3 separate regions of the Homo sapiens genome follow, and all the other regions are linked to region 1. Evidence: promoter capture Hi-C in 16 types of primary human blood cells and fetal thymus (Javierre and others, 2016). All regions are on one chromosome and are shown on one strand. The core of a region is centred on a gene start or on the middle of the fragment in contact, and the rest is flanking DNA. Distances in the headings are between cores, read along the strand shown. Region 1 holds the start of RHOF (ras homolog family member F, filopodia associated). Region 2 overlaps KDM2B (lysine demethylase 2B). Region 3 overlaps MLXIP (MLX interacting protein).

The links. Contacts are between HindIII fragments. The CHiCAGO score rates a contact against its expected background, and 5 or more counts as called.
Region 2: a fragment that was not itself captured here is called in contact with the fragment with the promoter of RHOF in region 1 in 6 of 17 cell types (naive CD4 T cells, total CD8 T cells, naive CD8 T cells and 3 more); the score reaches 7.9 in naive CD4 T cells.
Region 3: a contact is called between a fragment that was not itself captured here and the fragment with the promoter of RHOF in region 1, in 1 of 17 cell types (fetal thymus). The highest score is 5.3, in fetal thymus.

The regions. Positions count from the first base shown.
Region 1 is chr12:121,791,321-121,795,328 of GRCh38, reverse strand. It overlaps RHOF (ras homolog family member F, filopodia associated), which reads left to right and starts at 1,641. Exons shown (of 5, transcript NM_019034.3): 1 at 1,641-1,833; 2 at 2,090-2,177. The coding sequence starts at 1,696. LINC01089 (long intergenic non-protein coding RNA 1089) reads left to right here. Exons shown (of 4, transcript NR_152740.1): 4 at 1-62. It also overlaps a transcript of SETD1B not described here. RefSeq lists enhancers at 112-652, 1,197-1,246, 1,193-1,733, 1,739-2,570 and a silencer at 1,727-2,266. The HindIII fragment of the contact is 6,952 bases long and covers 1-4,008 here.
Region 2 is chr12:121,494,214-121,498,221 of GRCh38, reverse strand. KDM2B (lysine demethylase 2B) reads left to right here. Exons shown (of 23, transcript NM_032590.5): 12 at 3,557-3,643. Among named protein-coding and RNA genes, the nearest start is that of MIR7107, 52 kb to the right of the region's middle. The HindIII fragment of the contact is 1,767 bases long and covers 946-2,712 here.
Region 3 is chr12:122,078,928-122,082,935 of GRCh38, reverse strand. It overlaps MLXIP (MLX interacting protein), which reads right to left. Exons shown (of 17, transcript NM_014938.6): 1 at 3,670-4,008. Among named protein-coding and RNA genes, the nearest start is that of MLXIP, 2.2 kb to the right of the region's middle. RefSeq lists enhancers at 1,561-1,610, 1,681-1,730, 3,598-3,837 and a silencer at 3,898-4,008. The HindIII fragment of the contact is 912 bases long and covers 1,756-2,667 here.

The DNA of each region.
Region 1 (4,008 bases), core at 392-2,891:
CTGTGACCTCCTGGAAGGCTGGAGCACAACTGCCTCTCAATAAACGTGTTGCAAAAAAGGAATGGATGAGTTGCTGTGCATTTGTCTAGGGGGTGCTTGACCCAGGAGATTACCCTTTGCCCAGTGCCTGAAGAGGGCGTCCACTGAGAACCTGGGGTGCCTCCCCGGCCTCCCCTTCCCAGCTCTGCTGTGGTCTTGGGATTCTGTGGGCGGTCGCTGCTGCCCTCTGGTGGTCAGACCGTGCCTTGCTTGCACTGTGAGAACCTTGACCATGGAACTGCCAGGTTGGCGGTTTTCCTCCACGAAGTGAGGTTTACATGACCCTTGCCGAGACCTTGAAAACTGGGAGTCTTCGGGGTGGGGTCGCCAGCAAAAAGATCCTGAGTCCTGCCAGCCCCTATCTGAGGAAACTACGAAGGCCACTTGCCCCCAACCATGCTGCTGTTGGGGGTTTTGTTAGAAATGGGCTCTTCCTACCCCAGCTGGTAGGATCCCACTCTCGGCCATGCTCTCGTGCCTGTCTGCCGTGGACCGGCTCCAGGGGGGGGTCCCTCTGCCACCCTGTCGACTCATCTGGGTGGTGCAGAGGGCAGTCAGCCCGCCCAGGGTGAGGAGTAAGAGGAGGGGTGGGGGTTACGGGTAATTCAGCCAGCAGCCCTGATAGCACTGCCTACAGTAAGTGCTCAACAAATAAGCTGTTTTGATCAGGGGATGGGAGAGTTGGGGGGATTCCTGGGATGAAGGACATGTGGCTGCTGGCAAGGAAACGCATTTTCTTACATTTCTTGGTGGGTGTGGGGTTATCAGTCTCCAAAGCTCCAGGAGAGGGACCAAGTTGACTTCAACTAGAGCTACTCCAACCTGCCCCTCCCTGACGACGTCTTGCGTGGTTCACGCCTCTGGCTCCTGCCGGAAGGAGGCGGCCGCCCCTAGTGGTTTCGGGCCAACCTGCGCCCGGAGCGGCCGGCGCCGAGGCGATTGCCCGGCAGAGGGCGTCAGACGTCCACCCTGCAGCCCAGGGTCGGGGTGCGGGTAAGCGGAGCCCAGTCCCTCACCCCGAACCCGCGTGCACGCTGGCGTCCCTGGCCCAGGCGAGGTGGGCAGACATGACTCTCGCGTCAGCATCTTCCCTGGTGCCACCGCCGCTACCTCCTGTGGGGAAGCTGAGGCCAGAGGCGGACATGTGCCAAGCCACACCGCTGGGGCAGTGCAAAGTTGAGGGGCTCTTCCCGGAGCTGGAGGCCGGGGGCTTCTCGAACCCGGTGCGGAGGCACAGCCAGCCAATCCGGGAGACCCTGTCTGGCCGCGCCAGCCAATCAGAGGGTCCCTGCCGAAGGCGGAGCCTGCTAATCAGGGGCACCTGGAGTCGCTGGGCAGCCACGATCGGGTCTCGCCGGCGAGGGGCGCGACGTGACGCGCGGAGGGTGGCGGTGGGTTGGGGGTGGGAGCTTTGCTCGCAGCTGAGCCCCGTTTTTCCGGTGCTGCAGTATCCCTGGGACTGAGAGCTGAATACCCACACCCAGGGCTGAGACCTTAGCAGAAAGGAAACTGAGGCTGGGAGGTCGGCCGGGAGGCTGCCTGGCGGAGGCGGCGCTGCTCCGAGTGGGCGGGGCTGGTTCCGGCCCCGCCCCGCCCCCGACCTCTTGGCTCCGCTAGTGCCCGGCGCGCCGCCGCCAGTGCTGCGGGCTCCGGGCAATGGATGCCCCCGGGGCCCTGGCCCAGACCGCCGCCCCCGGTCCGGGCAGGAAGGAGCTGAAGATCGTGATCGTGGGCGACGGCGGCTGCGGCAAGACCTCGCTGCTCATGGTGTACAGCCAGGGCTCCTTCCCCGAGGTGAGGCCCGCAGCGGGGCTGGGGTGGGGGCGAGGGACGCCCCTTACCCTGAGCCCAGAGCCCCGACCCTCAGTCCCCAGCGTCCCGAGCACGGACAGGCGGCCGCCACCCCGGGGCGCCCCCTCGGGAATTCCAGAGCCCAGCGGGGTGAGGGGGGGCTGATCCGGGACGAGTGAGGGGGGTGGACAGTGGATTCAGCTGGAACTTTGGCCCCCGCCGGCCCCACTAAGGACCAACCCGACCCCCTCTCCCGCAGCACTACGCCCCATCGGTGTTCGAGAAGTACACGGCCAGCGTGACCGTTGGCAGCAAGGAGGTGACCCTGAACCTCTACGACACGGCCGGTGAGTGCGCCTGCGCGCCGGGGGGCCCGAGGGTCCGCCCGCCCGAAGGGTTTCCCCTCCCGGGCGTCCCCCACTGGGTGTCCCCGCCCTGCAGCCTTGGCAGGGCCTTGGCCGGCTCTTCACTCCTGGAGGCCGCTCAGGGGCGCTGGCTGCGGGGCCCTAGAGGCCAAGCCCTATACGTAAGTGGAAGGTGTTTGGAGGAGGAGGTGAACTCTGGGGCCACCCTCCCAGCTCTGTGCTGAGAGCCCACAGCTCGTTCCTCTCCTGTGGTTCTAGAAAGCAGTGGGCTGCTCTTGGGCCTCCCATGGTTCCAGGATTGCTGCGCTACCTGCTGTGGTCTCTGCAGACTCTGTGAGCTGCAGATTTGAGTCCCTTGGTGCTCGGATTGCCTGGGCTGTGTGTCTGGGTCCTGTGGTTCTGGGATGCTCCCGGCTGCAGATCAGCCTGTGGCTCCAGGGCTCTGTGGCCTGCGCTCTGCAGCCTGAGGCTCTGGGGTCCTGTGGATGCGAGTTCTGTGTCTGCAGCTCCCAGGATTCCACGGCTTGCAGTTGGTGGTTCTGGAATTGCGTGGCTACAATTACTTCTGTGCTTTCCTAGTTCCCTGGGACAAAACCAGACAGTGTAGAAAATGAACTGAGGAAGGAACAGAGCACTGGGGGCAGGGGCCCCACACCAGGCTCTGCCTGCCACCTGCAGGCCCCCACGGGTGGTTTACGGATTTATGTGCAATTGCTTGGGAGTCGGTGTTGTGAGGGGTGGGGACAGGAGAAACAGTCAGTGGGAGGACCCTGACTCCCATCTGGGCTTCATCAACATTGGGGACCAAAGGTTGAGATCCCCAGGTGGGGCCTCACCCCACCTCTGTGACTCAGTGTTTAGTGACCTGCAGGGAACCACGTCATCCGGTGGCCCTCTCCGGCCAGCCAAGCCTTGTGTGTGTGAGGTGAGGTCAGACACTGACCTAGGATGGAGCCAAAATCCAGACACCTCCACCCCCACCTAGACCTTGGAGAGGACCCGAAAAGGGGCTGTCCTAGCTCAGAGCCCCCCTCCATTCCGACTTCAGCAGGTCCTATCGTGGCCTCTGAGGAACCTGTCTTTGTGGGATGTGGGCCCTGTAGGGCCAACCCCAAAACAGCGCCTGTCTCTAGCCCCTGGTGAGCTGGGAGAGCTGAGGCATCAGAGGAATTCCCGGGGCGTGGCCCGGGGGTAGTAAAAGTCATGGTCTGGGACACCTTTACTCTCATGTTTCCTGTGCAGTAGCCAGGGAGGGGCAAGGTCATTGACCCACTTTTTGAGTCAAGTGCTGCTGGGTGGAGACATTCACAGCAACCCACTGCCCTGCAAGAGGTCAGGAGGTTTTTTCTTTCCTCCTCCTCTGCCATCAGGGCCTCCCCTATCAGGTCCCGGGGTTCACTGTTCAGGGCAGCCTCCACATCATAAGAACAGGGATGGCCTTTCTGGCCTTGCCCAGAGAGAGATGCTCAAGGAACATGTCAGAGTAGATTGAGTTGTGGAGATTCTGGAAAGCTGCAAGTTGCTGTAGGAAGAATTTGTGCTAAGAGCTGCTACCAGAGGGATGGAGGAGCATCCCCTGCTACAGTCACCAGAAGCAGGCGACCACTGGCACCATGGGGATCCCATCCATGGTCCCATCCTGTTCCTGCCATCCTCTTTGGAGTCAGATCTGGGCTTTGACCCCAGCTCTATTGGCTACGTATCATTGGGGATGTCTGGGCCTCAGTTTCCTGATCTGTCATGAGCACTAAGAGGGTCATGAGGATTAAATCAGATTAATATATGATGTCCACCAGCCTGCCCAACATGGTGA
Region 2 (4,008 bases), core at 580-3,079, 300 kb after region 1:
CCCACATGCAGGGGGGAATGGGAGGTCTCTGGCTAAACCTGAGTGTATTTCTGGAAAGCTCATTTGTTCTTAATGATTTTTTAGAAAGAGGGAAAAACTTTATTTATTTATTTATTTATTTATTTTGAGACAAAGTCTTACTCTGTTTCTCAGACTGGAGTGCAGTGGCATGGTCTCGGCCCGCTACAACCTCTGCCTACTGGGTTCAAGTGATCCTCCTACCTCAGCTTCCCAGGTCGCTGGGACCACAGGCACACACCACCACATCTGGCTAATTTTTGTAGTTTTAGTAGTGATGGGGTTTCTCCATGTTGATCAGGATGGTCTAACTCCTGGCCTCAAGTGATCCACCCGCCTTGGCCTCCCAAAGTGCTGGGATTACAGGCGTGAGCCACCGCAACTGGCCAGAGTTAAACCATTTTTACTTTTTTTTCTGTTCTAGGATCCCACCCAAGGTACAATATTACATTTAGTCTCATCAGTCTTCTCTTAGCTGCCATAGTTTCTTAGACTTTCCTTGTTTTGATGACCTTGACAGTTTTGAGGAGATCTGTTCAGGCATTTTGTAGACTGTCCCTCTTTTAGTATTTGTGGCTTTATTTTATAAAAACTCTGGGGCCAGGTGCGGTGGCTCACACCTGTAATCCCAGCACTTTGGGAGGCCGAGGCGGGTGGATCACTTGAGGCTAGGAGTTTGAGACCAGCCTGGCCAACATGGTGAAACCCTGTCTCTACTAAAAATAACAAAAATTAGCCAGGGGTGGTGGCACACGCCTGTAATCCTAGCTACTCAGGAGGCTGAGGCAGGAGACTCGCTTGAACCTGGGAGGCAGAGGTTGCAGTGAACCAAGATGGTGCCACTGCACTCCAGCCTGGGTGACAGAGTAACACTCCATCTCAAAAAACAAACAAACAAACAAAACCCAACTTTGTTTATTGGAAGCTTACTCTAGGTTAGTCATTATGTGAGGCTTTGAGGATATAGCAGTGAATAAAGACACTTTATAAATAGCATTTACAAATCATTGACATTGACTATGGGACTTTGGGGAAGCTGTATGTGCCGGGGCTGGGATTTAAACCCCTGGAGCCAGTTCTAGAGCCAACATTCTTGACCACTGTGCTGTTTGCTGTTTCCTGTGGGCTAAGGAGGAAGTTCTTCAGGTTAACAGCCACATCTTGAAAAATCACTCAAAAAAAAAAAAAGAAAAATCATGCAAGCAAATTATGATCAGGAAAGTATGATAGGCGTGCAGTGGCTCACACCTGCAATCCCAGAACTTTGGGAGGCTCACACCTATAATCCCAGCACTTTGGGGGGCTCACACCTGCAATCCCAGCACTTTGGGGGGCTCACACCTATAATCCCAGCACTTTGGGGGGCTCACACCTGCAATCCCAGCACTTTGGGAGGCTCACACTCGCAATCCCAGCACTTTGGGGGGCTCACATCCGCACTCCCAGCACTTTGGGGGGCTGAGGCAGGTGTTTTGCTTGAGCCCAGAAATTCAAGACCAGCCTGTGCAACATGGTGAGAACCCATCTGTACAAATAATACAATTAGCTGGGCTTGGTGTTACGCACTTGTAGTCCCGGCTACTGAGGAGGCTGAGGTGGGAGGATCACTTGAGCCCAGGAGTTTGAGGCTACAGTGAGCTGAGATTGTGCCCCTGCACTCCAGCCTGGGTGACAGTCACACCCTGTCTCAAAAAAAAAAAAAAAAAAAAAGGACAATGAGCAGAGTAAACTGGAAGTAAGCTGGAGTCATTTCTAGTGAAGTGAATTAGGAAAGGTGAATTAAAATAATCTTCACCTTCATTTGTCTCCTGAGCGCTTCTGCTCTTCCTGCTCAGTGCTTCTGTATGATTTACTCTGTTCTTAAATGTCCGGAAAAAATGTTTTTGTACAATTCAACAATCCGTGGTCCAGGATCAGAATGGGCCAGTGATAGTTCTGTGTGTGCTTAAACACATTTTTTTGTGGGGTGCTGTGGATGTGTGGATGTAGCCAAAAAAAACCCTATGTGGGTGGTCCTGGGGCAGAAAGTCTGGTGCCAGAGAGTGGGGTTCTGGGGGTCTGTCTTCATAGTTTGGGGTAGCACTAAAATCCTGTGAGCCTTTCTGGGCCTTGGTAACCTCCCCTGTAAGTTAGCTGTTAGATAATTCAGCTGGGTAGCATTTTATACCTGGATGATGTTCTAAAGTCCAGCCACACAAGGCCAAAGTCTGGCAGAGTGAGAATTCCCTTTGAAGAACCTTCAAACTGCTCACCGAGAGTGAACACAGTGTGCCTCGTGGGAGATCGCCAAGCAGCCTGGCAGTCCGTCCAACGCAGCCCATTTTTCTGCCACAATTTGGCCACGTGACTCCATCCTCAGTCAGACCAGATCAAGCATCTTCTTGTATTTAGGGCCCATGTTGCAAAAAACATTTACACGTCGTCACACAGCAGGGTTAGGGTACATGTAGCAAGCTGACTAAAGGACGGAGTCATGGCTCTATGAAGGCATCAAGGTCTGGAGGTTGGTTTTGTTTGCTTCGCTGAGTACGTAGTTAAATTTGTGAACATTAGAGGATCCGTAGTGCCACCGCCCAGCCCTCCCAGAGTGCTTGGTAGGAATTAAATGAGGCACAGTGGCTTACCCCTGTAATCCCAGCATTTTGGTAGGCTAAGGAGGGAGGATTCCTCGAGGCCAGGAGTTTGAGACAAGCTTGGGCAACATGGCATATACCCTGTCTGCACAAAAAAATTTAAAAATTATGGCTGGGCGTGTTGGCTCACGCCTGTAATCCCAGCACTTTGGGAGGCCAAGGCAGGTGGGTCACTTGAGGTCAGGAGTTGGAGACTAGCCTGGCCAACATGGCAAAATCCTGTCTGTACTAAAAATACAAAAATTAGCCCAGCGTGGTGGTGCACACCTGCATTCACAGCTACTCGGGAGGCTGGGGCAGGGAAATCGCTTGAACCCAAGAGGCAGAAGTTGCTTGAGCCCAGATTGCGCCACTGAACTCCAGCCTGGGTGACAGAGTAAGACTTTGTCTAAAAAAAAAAAAAAAATTTAGCCAGGGAGGGTGCCATGCACCTGTGGTCTCAGCTACTTAGGAGGCTAAGGCATGAGGATCACTTGATCCAGGTGGTCAAGGATGTAGTGAGCTATGATTATACAACTGCACTCCGGCCTGGGTGACAGAGCAAGATTCTGTCTCAAAAAAAAAAAAAAAAGAAAAAGTTTGTGTGTGAGTCCCCGACGCTCTGGACAAGTGCTAGATGTCATAACTGTGATCATGGGTGATACATACGTGGAAGTCACAGGGAGGTATGTGATTTGCTTTGTTAAAGAAATTTTGTAGAGGGCAGAGGGGAACGTTGTGTGTTTCGTGGGCCCCAGGGGACCCTAGTGACTTGGTTTCTATTGAATGTGTGGGTGGTGGTGGAGTCAATGGCCAGGCGCTGACTTTGTGGAGTGTGATCCTTGCTGGACTATGTCTGCTGTTCAGCTGTCTTCAGAGACCTCCCCTTCCCCCTGGGCTAATATGGATGCTTTGTTTGGCCACAGAACGTCCTGAAGGAGCACGCAGATGATGACCCTAGTCTGGCCATCACTGGGGTCCCTGTGGTGACTTGGCCAAAGAAGACTCCAAAGGTAAGACGCAGCCTGCCTGCAGCGGGCGGCCGCTTCCCACCTCCTTCCCACCTCCTGTAGGGTGAACAGCCGCGACTTTTTGGGTAGCTATGGGGCCTCCTGAGATGAAGGCACCGCAGTTAAGATGAAGGATTTTGGTGATTTGTTCCATGTTTTTGTTTTTAAAAGGGGGTTGCTTTACCTAGCTGTGGGAACTGCGAACAGTGCCGCCTGGTGGTCACTTGGAAAACTGGGGGGTGCTGACACCTCGCCTTTCCCTGTGGTTAGGTGGATTTTCTGTCTCTCCTTCCCTCACTCCCTTGCTTCTTCCCTTCCTTTTCCCTTTTCCTTTAATTGCTTCATGGGCTGTCTTCTCCTCTTTTGAA
Region 3 (4,008 bases), core at 962-3,461, 290 kb before region 1:
GACAAGAGGACTGCTTGAGCCTGGGAGGTCAAGGCTGCAGTGAGCTGTGATCACATCACTATCCTCCAGACTGGGAAACAGAGCGAGATCCTATCTCAAAAAAAGGAAATTCTGTGTGAAGGATATACATGTGTGACATTCCTTACAGTGTCAAGAGGGCAAGAACCATGAACTATGTTCTACAGTACATAGCTCCATTGTAGAGCCTCAGAAAGCACCCGGCCAAATCAAGAATGCTTCTATTTAGTATTTGTCAAGCAGGCATTTGAAAGCTCAGCTAAGACCCTGGTTAGATACACTATTTCCTTCAGTTCATAGATAAGACACGGGCTCCTCATAAATGTCAGATGAATGCAGATGCAGAACTAAAATTCTGCCATAACCCACTTGCTATGCGGAGCCCGTTAAACCCTCCTCTTGTGTGTTACTTGCCAGGCACTAGCCCCATTCCCAGCTCCATTCCCAGAGGTTATCTCTGCTGATCCTCACTTCCACCTTGCAGGGAAATTTTATCTTTCCCATTGAATAGCATTCTTAGACTTCAGATAAGTCTAAGGAAAAATAAGGATTTTTTCCATCATTAACACCTGGTTTGCCTCGGGGAAAGGCAACCCCTTCTCTCCAAAATGTCCCAATAATTGAGCACATGTTTCTGGACCAAATCAAGACCCTTCGCCACAGGGCTTCTCAGCAAAACTGAGTGAGAAGGACAAGGAATCCCATCTGCACGGTTCCCTACCCAGCAGGCCCTGGGCACACTCATATCCAAGTCCTCAAACACCCTGTTCCACACCCAAAGTCAGCCCCGGGCAAAGACCCTTCAGGAGGTGAAGCCCTGCCAGTTCAGGAATGGATCACAGTCAGAATCCCTAGGCCACTTCTCAGGACTCGGTAAAAAATAACCACAACTTCCCCTGCACTTAGTTCCTCCCCAGAGAGCTGTTGAACCTCATCTGGAAACAGCTGGGAGGCAGCAGCTAACAGGAAATCAAACAACAACAACAAAAAGCAGAGTGTACCACGGAGAGTTAGACAGCTAGAACGAAGAGGCCAGAGGACAGACAGGAAGTTGAAGTTAGAAAGAACCTAGGCCAGAAACAGTCACACAGAAGAGGAGACCCAGCTGGCCTTTCTCAGCTCGGGCAGGAGGGGAGGACCCAGACAGCCGGCAGGGAAGGCATGAACCCCACCAGGATGGAAGCCAGACAGGCTCTGAGGTTAAGTCTTCTTTCTGCCCTGCCCCCAATCCCTTTTTTTCTTTCTTTCTTTTTCTTTTTTAGAGATGGGGATCTTGCTACATTGCCCAGGCTGATCTTGAACTCCTGGGCTCAAGCAATCCCCCACCTCGGCCTCCCAAAGTGCTGGGACTACAGGCATGAGCCACCACGCCCCGCGTTGCCTCCGATCTCAACCTTCCTTCCCTGAAAGCCAGGTAGCAGTTCTCACTAGGAGAGCTGGGGTCAGAAACTCACCTTCCTCTAGTTTCTTTCTGTGCCACAGACTACAGCCCAGACAACTGGTTTTGAGTCATTTGTCTGTCATCCATACCAAAGTTCTACACTGCCAACTAAACTCAGCACTGGACAAACCAGCCTCACACAGACAGACAAAGGGCATCTTCATGAGAAATGACTGGACAGATCCCATCCGAGGGCCTGTGGTGGTAGACCTTAGGTGGCCGACCTTAGGCAGCAGGAGACCTTAGGCACAGGGAAAAGCAGCGAAAGTGAGAGAGCCAAGAGAGCAAGATAAGCTTCTTGCACCAAACTGATGGTGCATTTTGCAATCAAGAAAGTTAACTGAGCAACGGCCAGCTGCCAAAATATTTTTGAGAGAAATGAAAAAAAAAATGCCATTACTAAAATTATTTGGTGTTGTTTAATAAGCCTTTAGGTTATCCAAACAAGAGTGCAAAGGGGAGACTGATTTAGTTTTCATTTAGCAGAGCTTACTTAGGTGAGACCTTTCCAGTCCATGCCCCCCGTGACTCATCCATTCTCTCCCTGTATATGTAGAAGTTTATATTAAAATAAAGAAGAGGATTAAGTTTTCTTAATAAGATACATTCCAGTCTTTCACCTCGAGCTTTGTTTGAAAAGGCTCTCTCGAGGCATAGCATATGCTGCGATCCAGTCGGGTTTGATTCCAATGGAACTGCTCAAAATCAGAGACTGGAGGGCGCACAGGGCTGCAGCCTCAACACCATTTGTTTTTTAAAAAGCAGAACATCTTTACAGGCTCAGTGCCAGCTCAAACTGGCAAGACCAGAGAATCAGCAGAGACTGACCAATGTGCCGGGTAAGGGGGATGGGAGGAGGAGCTACGGGAACAGATCATCAGGGAAACCTTCAAGAGAGGAAATAGGGGTGTTTCAGGAACATAACAAAGAACAAGTTGACTAATCGTTTATTCCAGGGACCGCGGCGGTGAGGGGGGTGCCATCCAGGGCTAAGTATCTAATATTTTAACTTCAGGTAAAAGCATAACATTTAAACCTGGATATGCTTGGGGCTCACAGCTCTCTTAAAAAGGTGAGGTGAGAGGGGGCAAGATATTCCTGCTCTTTTATTACGCTGTTTATGGAGTCTCCTAGGAAACTTCTCCCGCGATGCCTCCAGAGCAGACCTAAGACAGCCCCCGCTAGTCCAGTTCCTAATGCAATAAGCTTAACTCAGCAGAGATCCCATCATGAGCTTTCTGCAGGGCCAAGCTGCTCAAGGCCGCTGCTGCCAGTCCAAAGAAGTTCTGTTGCGCAGACAAAAAAGTTACCTGCAGCAAATACCTAATATTCATAGTGGGAAAGGGAGAGAGAGTGAAAAAGCGCTTTAATCTTTGAGGGCCAGGCATTTTCTGTGACTTGGAAAAGAGGAATCTCTGCCCAGAGCCGAATCCACATGTCAGAACGGTGTCTGGGATGTCTGCCCTCAACAATGACATCTCCCTCATATAATGTTTCAGGACCGGCCAGAAAACCCTCCAACTTGCCAGAAGGACAGACTGCACCTCCAACAGCTGTGGCACCAAAAGTCTTCTTAGGAGGCACCCAAAGCCCTCCCGAGATGGGGGCGGGCCTCCCGATGAGGTTGTAAGGGGGCCAGCCTCCAGGTGCAGGGACACCTAACTCTGGCCAAGCACTGGAATAAGCAATTTACCTATCTCACTCCATCCCCACAACAGCCCCTTGGAGGCAGACACTACAGTCATTCCCCTTTTATAAAGGAGGAAACAGGCTCCGAGGTGTTACACAACCATTAAACAGCAGAGCCAGCCTCCAGTCACCCCGAACAGGTGGTCCTGACCGCTGCTGGATATGGGGGAAACACACAAAGCGTTTGGAGGAAGGAGTCGATAGAGTCGGGTAACACAAGATGCAGCCAGTGTTTATACCTCTTCCTCGTCCAACATCGGTGGTCCCAGGACACTGGAGGGGAGGGCCTGGATGGGGAACGTGAACCCGAAAGGACCCCGGCACTGCTGGCAGGGGAAGAGGCCAGGACCCCGGCTCCTCTGGCAACGCGGGGAACCCCAGATCCATAAACCCTCCCGAAGGAGGAAGACCCAAAGGGAATGCATGAAGCCACGGGGTTGCCAGGCGGCCCTTCCCTCCACGCTTGTTTTGTCAAACAAGGGCCTCCGGCCGGGGCCTCAGGGGGTCGCGGGGGTCCCTACCTGTAGGCCAAAGTCATGCACTCGAAGAGCTTGGTGAGCGAGGCGTCGATGGACAGGTGGCAGGAGCTAGTCTTGCCGAAGCTGTAGGTCTGGCACGTCTGTTTGTTGACCGTGTCGAAATCGTAGCCCTTCTTGGGCGGGTGCTCTCGGTGCGGCGACGACACCATGAAGTGGCCGCTGTGGATGATCTGCTGGCGGCGCGGAGGTTCCTCGCGGCCCGGCCCGGCCCGAGGCGGCGGTGGCGCGGCGCTCGCGTGGGCCCGGGCCGGGGTGGCCGCGCCGGAGGCGGGCGGCGGGGACGGCTCATCCGTGTCCGAGTCGTCGTCGTCCTCGGACACC